Linked DNA regions of Homo sapiens: region 1 is linked to region 2. The links are contacts of gene promoters, found by promoter capture Hi-C in blood cells and fetal thymus (Javierre and others, 2016). All regions are on one chromosome and are shown on one strand. The core of a region is centred on a gene start or on the middle of the fragment in contact, and the rest is flanking DNA. Distances in the headings are between cores, read along the strand shown.

The links. The method cuts DNA at HindIII sites, captures the fragments that hold promoters and counts their contacts. A CHiCAGO score of 5 or more calls a contact.
Region 1: a fragment that was not itself captured here is called in contact with the fragment with the promoter of CUBN in region 2 in 1 of 17 cell types (M0 macrophages); the score reaches 5.4 in M0 macrophages.

Annotation. Positions count from the first base shown.
Region 1 is chr10:17,038,183-17,042,168 of GRCh38, forward strand. It overlaps CUBN (cubilin), which reads right to left. Exons shown (of 67, transcript NM_001081.4): 27 at 2,851-3,038. Among named protein-coding and RNA genes, the nearest start is that of CUBN, 90 kb to the right of the region's middle. The HindIII fragment of the contact is 775 bases long and covers 1,474-2,248 here.
Region 2 is chr10:17,128,470-17,132,510 of GRCh38, forward strand. It overlaps CUBN (cubilin), which reads right to left and starts at 1,342. Exons shown (of 67, transcript NM_001081.4): 1 at 1,175-1,342; 2 at 652-781. The coding sequence starts at 1,296. The HindIII fragment of the contact is 5,551 bases long and covers 1-3,900 here.

The sequences.
Region 1 (3,986 bases), core at 611-3,110, 90 kb before region 2:
CCTATACATCTCCATGTTGATTTCTCCCAAATCTATCATTTCCATTTCTATATTCAATCACTCGTTTGAAATCTCCTTTTCTGCATGGAGACTCAGACTCAAAATAAAAATGGAAGACTGAAATCAAGTTGTAAAATACAGCCAGAACTCTTCAGGTTGATTCCCCATGTTTGCACGGGCAAATGGTCTCACTCCTTTAAGCAAATGGTCCCTTCTCCCACTGTATATTTTATTTCCAGATCTGAAATATTTTGTTTTGCCCAGAGGGTGAAATAATAAAGGATGCATTTGGTTTCCAATGGGATCTTTTCAAACCCATTCCTCTCATCAAGGCGGGATAGTGTCTGACCAGCACGTAATTAAGTCTTTTTGTAGTTTCCATTTTATTAATTCAGAATAACTAAATTCTGGCTCTAGTAACAGGCATCCAGTTGGGATTTGGGGAAGTCAGCTGAAAAAACCCAGAAGCGATTAAAATAATGGAAGCTAGATTTCTGTGTGTGTGAGTTTTCTCTCTGTAAATGGTTGTTTGTGTGTTAAAATTTCCATCATAGACCAGCTATTGCAGCTATTGCTCTGGTCTGGCCTCTTGGCTCACAGAGATGGAAAACAATCTCCTCCCTCTGGCAACAGCGCCGTTTTTTTGGAAGGCCTTTCTGAACTTCTGGTTCTCATTTTGTATTTTTGCTCTTTCACCGTCAATGTTGCACAAGAGAAATGGCATGACCATAACATGACAGACACGTCATCCATAAGGGGCTCTAATGAGCTACTCTGCAGTTGCTGGAACAAGCATTTTTTAATTTGAGTTTTTAAACACCTTTTTGTTGCCATTTCATCCTCAAATGAGTCGAAAGAAATGGAGTTCAGGTCCTGGAAATGTTTCATCTCTTTCCTCCCCCCTCTTTCTGCCAAAGCCTCCTTTAAAGCCCAATTCAAAAGCATCCTCCTTTCTGTGGCTTTCTCCATTACGCTTTACCAAATCACGATTATGGTGCCCAGCACACTGTTATACGTGCAACGCTCGGCAAGATCATGAGTCCTATTTTGGTTTGTGCTCCAATTTGTAGGATTGCACTGCGTGTGTAGGAGGTCGTACAAAAACGCCAGTTTGGAATTCAATCTTTCTCATTCATTAGTAGTTATCATTAGACTGATACTAAAATATGGCTGTGATATTCAATTCAACTTGAACTTACTGAACTCCTGTAATGTCCCACCTGTATAATAAGTGCCTGGGTTACAAAGTTAGTAGGAGACAGCACAGACCTTCGAGAAGCCCACAGTCCAGTGGGAATCAGAATAGTCCTAACTGGTAAAAGGAGGTATGACCAACTGCTGTGTTCACGGTATAAACAAAGGGCTTTGAAAGCAACTTTTCTGCTTTTTCTAAAACACAAACAAGGTCTCACCATGTGAAGAAATGGATGCCTATTCTAGTAGTATCTTAATGATACCATCCTGGTATCATTAAGCTTGTGAAGACCAGTTGAACTCCAGGTCAAGGAAGGTGGACTTTAAAACCATTGCCAAGTACGTGCTTGTAAGTTTGTTTCATGTTGTGTCATATTTTCTTAGAATACTGGTAAACAAAACTTTCTAATGGGTAAACACTATGGCTAATATTTCTGTAATATTGTACTTTTGTAAATATAAGGCAAAATTTTTTCCCAAAAAATTATCTCTGAAAAACAAGGGAATCTCCTTATAGTTAGGACCTCACAGAGTCTCTCAAAGTGCAGAATGCTTTGTTGTCACTCTTTGTTTTCATAAACAAAAGTGCTATTTGGAAAATATATGTTAACCTCAACCAACCTCAACCAATGCTAGTTTTCCTATACAACTTGTAAAAACACAATTAAGAACATTTTACAAGAATAACATATTTTTTCCTGGGAATATGACCCCAGAGTTGCCAGCAATGGATGTTGAAGTCTTTGTAAGTAAGACTTCTAAAAATCACTGACCACCTTAAAAACAACTACCTTAAGTCACTAGGCTGCAGGTAGGAGGGCAGGTGGGAAAAAAAATGTCCTGTTATCAGAGCAAGTACTTATCACTTCAGAAAGGGTATCTAGTGAAAACATTATATGTGGATTTTTTGAAGTATTATATATTAACAATATAGACAGAAATAAAGATAATGCCTTAGATGACTCAAAAAGTTATTTTACTGATGATGAAACGTAGATGCCAAAATAACCTCCCAATTTGTAGCCCTAAAAGTTACATATGCAAGTTATCAAAAAGCTTTTTAAGTTAAAATTTCTTATTGCAAAAATAACATATTACCTTATATTCAAGGTTGCCTAATATTTAAGCAAGATTTATTGCCTGAAATTGCATACAGACAGTTGAATAAATGTTACTAGTGGTCATGATTATAACAATTGAAACTTCAATTTTACAAAAATAAAAATATACTGAAATGAACTTACATTTAAAAATAAAAACAACAATTAAAACCATGATACCTCATACTAGAAAAATGACATCTTAAATAAATCCAAGATACCCAAACATTTTCTGATCTCTTATACACAGAGAACAAACATAAAAACAACCAACAAAAAATAGAGGTTATTACTCTCCTTCCATGTAAGTTAAGTAATATGAGGTCAATGAGTCCAGAAGTTACACTGAAACCTAAAAACATAGATAGTTCTCTGTATTCACAATTTAATACATTAAATATGAAATATACCTGTTCAAATACCATGGGTGGTTGGTGTGTTATAGATGCGTGGGGCAGAGTTAGGGATTTTATTCTAAAAAGCATGATGGATTCTAACTTGACACATCTCCCTTGATCTGAAAAAGCAGTGATCAATCAAGCTTTATAATACATACCTCTAAATAATCTGTGGAGCAGTTTATGTGATGTTCCAAGTCAAATGCTAAAAATGTGTAGTTCACAGTGTTGCCTGTTGTTGCCCGGATGGTCCAGTTGCAATGCTGATTTTCAGAATAAGGATTCGGATACCCTATACTCTCTAAGATGCCATAGGTTTGATTGACTATTACCACATTCTCACATGCTGGAAAAAGAAATGACTGTTAAGAACCACTATTATATACTTCATAAGTGCTCCAAGATGAGATTTTCCTTTAAAAAAAATAAATAAAAATCATCTGTGTATGTACACACACACATATATGATGTGTATATATGTGTGTGTATATATACACACACAGAGACACACACACATATATATTTGGTGCAGTATTTTCATAGTGAAAGGATTTCCATTTAGAAGAAATGTGAAATAATACTGAAGTGAATTCAAACTAAAGAGTCATGAAAATTAAATAGTCATGTTAAAATAGGCATCAAATTCCCTTGAATTTGTGGAGAGCAGAATAACTTGGTTATATTCAGGGATCAGTCTGATTTGTTTGTTAGAGAAGCGCATTCGACGTTCTGTGCTGCTGTTTTTTTAATGTTAACACGTGGAAGGGACAGAAATTCTGACTTTTAAATTCAACAGTTTAAAAACCCAAAATCCTATGGGAATGCTAAAAACCAGTAACAACATGGCTTTGTTGAACATTCAAAAGTCTGCATGAAATTCACAATAAAGGCTCCGTTCTCCCTCTAGTTAGTCATCAGGAAGTACCAAGCGAATAGATAGAGTAGAAAGGATTTAAAGAAGAAAGGAAAATGTGAAATTACAGAAAAAAAGTCTTCAATCCAATGGTGGCATTTTCTTGAGCTGAGTTTTCAACAAAACCAAACCAGATACCTCTAAGTATGTCTAATCCTGGGTGCCCAGTTCAGCCAATCCTAATGACTTAAACAAGGAATATATTATCTCTATGATGTGCAATAAAAGAGAACGGGAAATAAACATTATATGGAATGAGCTGTCTCTGAAAGTGTGATTCATAGATGTATTCCTACTACGATATGCTTTCTGAAGGTGGGTAGAACACCATTTATAACTTTGGTTTAAAAAAGTGTACATTTGTGGCTCTTCAAAATATTG
Region 2 (4,041 bases), core at 92-2,591:
CAGTAAGGCAGGAGAATAACTGGCCAATTCTGTTCTGTGGCAAAAGCAAACTGGTCACATGTCCACATATCCTTGGTCCCCTACTTCCTCGCATCCCCTGTGGAGGAGTTTCAGTTCCACCCTCCGTGCCTTCTCTGGACTAGGGTGCATTGTCTGGCACAATGAGCTTCTATCTTTTAGCATACTCCCTCTACCCACTATTAACCCCAGGCCATCGTCCTTTACAAGAACATGTCTGATGCCCAATTATGTTCTCTATGCTAAAGATTCAAGGTACACTAGGAAGGGGGAGGGAGGCTGAAGACAGGTTGATTAATGAATACAATATATAGTTAGATAGAAGAAATAAGACCTAGTGTTTGATAGACCAGTAGGGTGACTATAGTTAACATTAATCTATTGTACATTTCAAAATAACTAGAAGAGAACAATTCATATGTTCTTAGCATGAAGAAAAGGTAAATATTTAAGGTGATGGATATCCCAATTACCCTGATTTGAACTTTACACATTATAGGAATGTATCAAATTATGTATTAATAAAAAATAATAATTAAAAAAGATTCAAGGTACAGATTAATCTAGACTTGTTCAATTAAGTCACCGTATATGGATATACAAAATGACTTCAATATATTTCCAGTGTATTACCTGATGTAAACACTCACTGAGATCTTCATCATTTAATTTAATTTTTCCCAGGGATCCGGTTCTAAACTCAATGTTTTGAGCAGACCCCGTAAGAAACACCAAATTTCCTCTCTCTGTAGCCATTCGAGGCCTATATAATTCAAACGAGAGAATGCATCAGTAATTAGCAAGTACAATTTTTAAACCAAAATAACAAAGTTTCTTACTGAATAACTACAGGCCAAATACATCTTCACTTTTTGATCATCTCAACCCAACTGCCCCTGCTCATCTGCCACTTTTTTCTCTGCACATTTCTCAGAGATACCTCCTGGCAATTGCAAACAGATTATTTGCAAAATGACAGATAATAATTTGTGCATAGGAAAGTAATTTCATACCTCAGTCTAAATGTTTTTCCCTGTTTGCTTCTCAACATAATTTTCCTCAAGAAAAATTGCACCTTTGTTTATCTGGCTATTTGGGAAAACTGGTGAGGAATTAGCCTAGTCCCTGAGCAGGAATGACCCATGTGTTTACTTACTGTTGGAGATTGATGCTTCTTTTTTGTCTCTGCAGCTCAAGTTCTCCAGCTTCGCCATTTACTTCAGCAAATATTAATAAGGTAAGCAAACTCCAAAGAAAAGGTAAAGACATGTTCATCATCAACCTCCCAGGTTGGCAGGTAAGAGTGAGGCCACTCCAACCAACTGAGCATGGGATTTTGGAGAACAGCAAACCAGGCAGGTGTACTTTGAACCATGGAATATCCTGTAACTGTTGAGTTTTTTCTTCTTTGCCCTAGAAGGCTATGTTATTTTTTCTTCCAGAGGGATGTAAATGATCTTAGATCTTCAGTACTCTTCAACTTGTGAGAGGTCAAAATCTACCTTAAGTGATGCGCAACTTAATCATTATCTATTTGACCTTTGAAACAGTAACAAGCAGCTTTGAAAACATCCACTTAAACAATCTTTGCTTAAGAAGTAACTAGGTTTCAACAAAAGTAAACTGGTCATTATCTACACCTTTCTCTGTTCCCCTCCTTCCTCACCTCCCTTGCAGAGGAGTTCCACCTTTACCCAGCGCTAGGAAAACTAGATATCCACATGCAAAAGAAGTTGGAGGCTTACCTCATACCATATGCAAAAATTAACTCAAAAAAGTTCAAAGATCTAAATCTAAGAGCTAAAACTATAAAATTAACTCACAATGGTTCAAAAAATCTGAAACTATAACATAAAACTCAGAAGAATAGGACAAAAATTCATGACCTTGGATTTTGGATTTGGCAATGATTTCTTGAGTATGATACCAAAAGCATGGGCAAAAAAAGAAAAACACACAGACAACCAAAAGATATAAATTGGAATACATCAAAATTAAAAACGTTTGTGCATCAAAAAATACATCAACAGAGTGAAAAAGCAACTCCCAGAATGGAAGAAAATATTTGCAAATCATATATATATGAAAATGGGTTAATATCCAGAATGTACAAAGAATTTGTACTTTTTACTTTTTATCATCCCTGTGGGACCTATGGACGGCTGTGGAATCCATTCCCACTTTCCACACTGCGCTATACACCCTTCCAGCTGGATATATGGTTTGAGGACATGGAGCACTGATGTCCCCACTCACTCTGTGCTGGGACTACAGAAACCACTGAGAGTGATGAAAATATTCTACATTTCGATTGTAAAATCAACTATTGATGCACTCAGACTTTCCATGAGCACACAGACAAAACTGAATTTGAGGGAGAGCTGTAAAAATTTCACTTCTAAGAAAAATCTCTAGGTAATTACCATTGCATTGGTTAATACCCATGCAGGCTCTTTCAGGACAAGCCTGTTTGTGTTTTACTTATTTTGTGTCTTACTTATGTAGGCTCTTTGAGGAGAGGATCATTATGTACCATAGCTTATAATTCTTTACTTATGCCGGGCGCGGTGGCTCACGCCTGTAATCCCAGCACTTTGGGAGGCCGAGGCGGGCGGATCACGAGGTCAGGAGATCGAGAACATCCTGGCTAACGTGGTGAAACCCCGTCTCTACTACAAATACAAAAAATTAGCCGGGCTTAGTGGCGGGCGCCTGTAGTCCCAGCTACTCGGGAGGCTGAGGCAGGAGAATGGCGTGAACCCGGGAGGCGGAGCTTGCAGTGAGCTGAGATCATGCCACTGCACTCCAGCCTGGGGGACAGAGCGAGATGCCGTCTCAAAAACAAAACAAAACAAAAAAAAACTTTACTTGTGATACTCAAATAGTCACTGCTTTTAAAAATTTTTTTTAAACCTTCCCAATTTCTTCTATATGTCTCTTGTATCTGCTTCTTTCACTCAACATAATGCTTTTGTAATTCATCTGTGCTGTAGTGTATATCATTAATTGGTTCCCTTTTATTATTGAGTAGTATTTCATCATATGGCTATCCCACAGTTTGCTTCTCTACTCATCAGTTGATAAACACTTGAGTTATTTCCAGTTTGGGACTATTATAAATAAAGCTGTTATGAACATTTGTGAACAGGTCTTTGTGTCAACATAGGTATCTCATTACAATTTTAATTTATATTTCCCTAATGACCAAAGATGTTGGGCATCTTTTTATGTATATTTGCCATTTGTTTATCTTCTTCGGTGAACTGTCTGTTTAGATATTTTGCCTATTTTTTAAAATTTTGTTGTTTGTCTTTTATTGATTGTAAGAGCTCATATATTCTAGATACAAGAATTTTCAAATACGTATTTTGCAAATATTTTTCTGCCAACCTGTGGCAAGTCATTTTGCTTGCTTAAAAATATTTTTCAAGGACAACAATAAGACACAAAAGACTACTTCCTAAGTGATTCTATATCACATGATTCCATATGAAAATCTAAAAAAGCCAAAACTACACTGATTGATAGACAACAAATCAGAGGCCAGGGGTTGGGGAGGAGATTGATCGCAAGGAGGCATGAGGGAATATTTAAGGGTGATGAAAATGTTCTGTATCATGATTGTGATTGTGGTTGCATGACTGTATAAATTTGTCAAAACTCATAAAGCTGTATAGTTAAAATAGATAATCTTTGGCAGATGTAAATTACAGCACAATAAAACTGATTAAAATTATTTCTCTTCTATATTTGTAAATGTCTTCATATATCAGGATGATACAAAATATTAATTTGGTATTAAACTAAATGCTAAGAAAAGATATCCAATAGCCTTTACATCAATAGAGATGAAATTTATCATAATAAATTTGTTTATTTGAAAGCTTAACAACTTGGCATGGGGTGGAGGGAAAGTTTGACAATATGAAATTTTTGGCAAGTTTAGAATAGGATAAAATAGTCTGGGCTAGAATCTTCCAATCAAAAGGATAATTCAAACTCTCTGAGCTCTGGACGTAACTA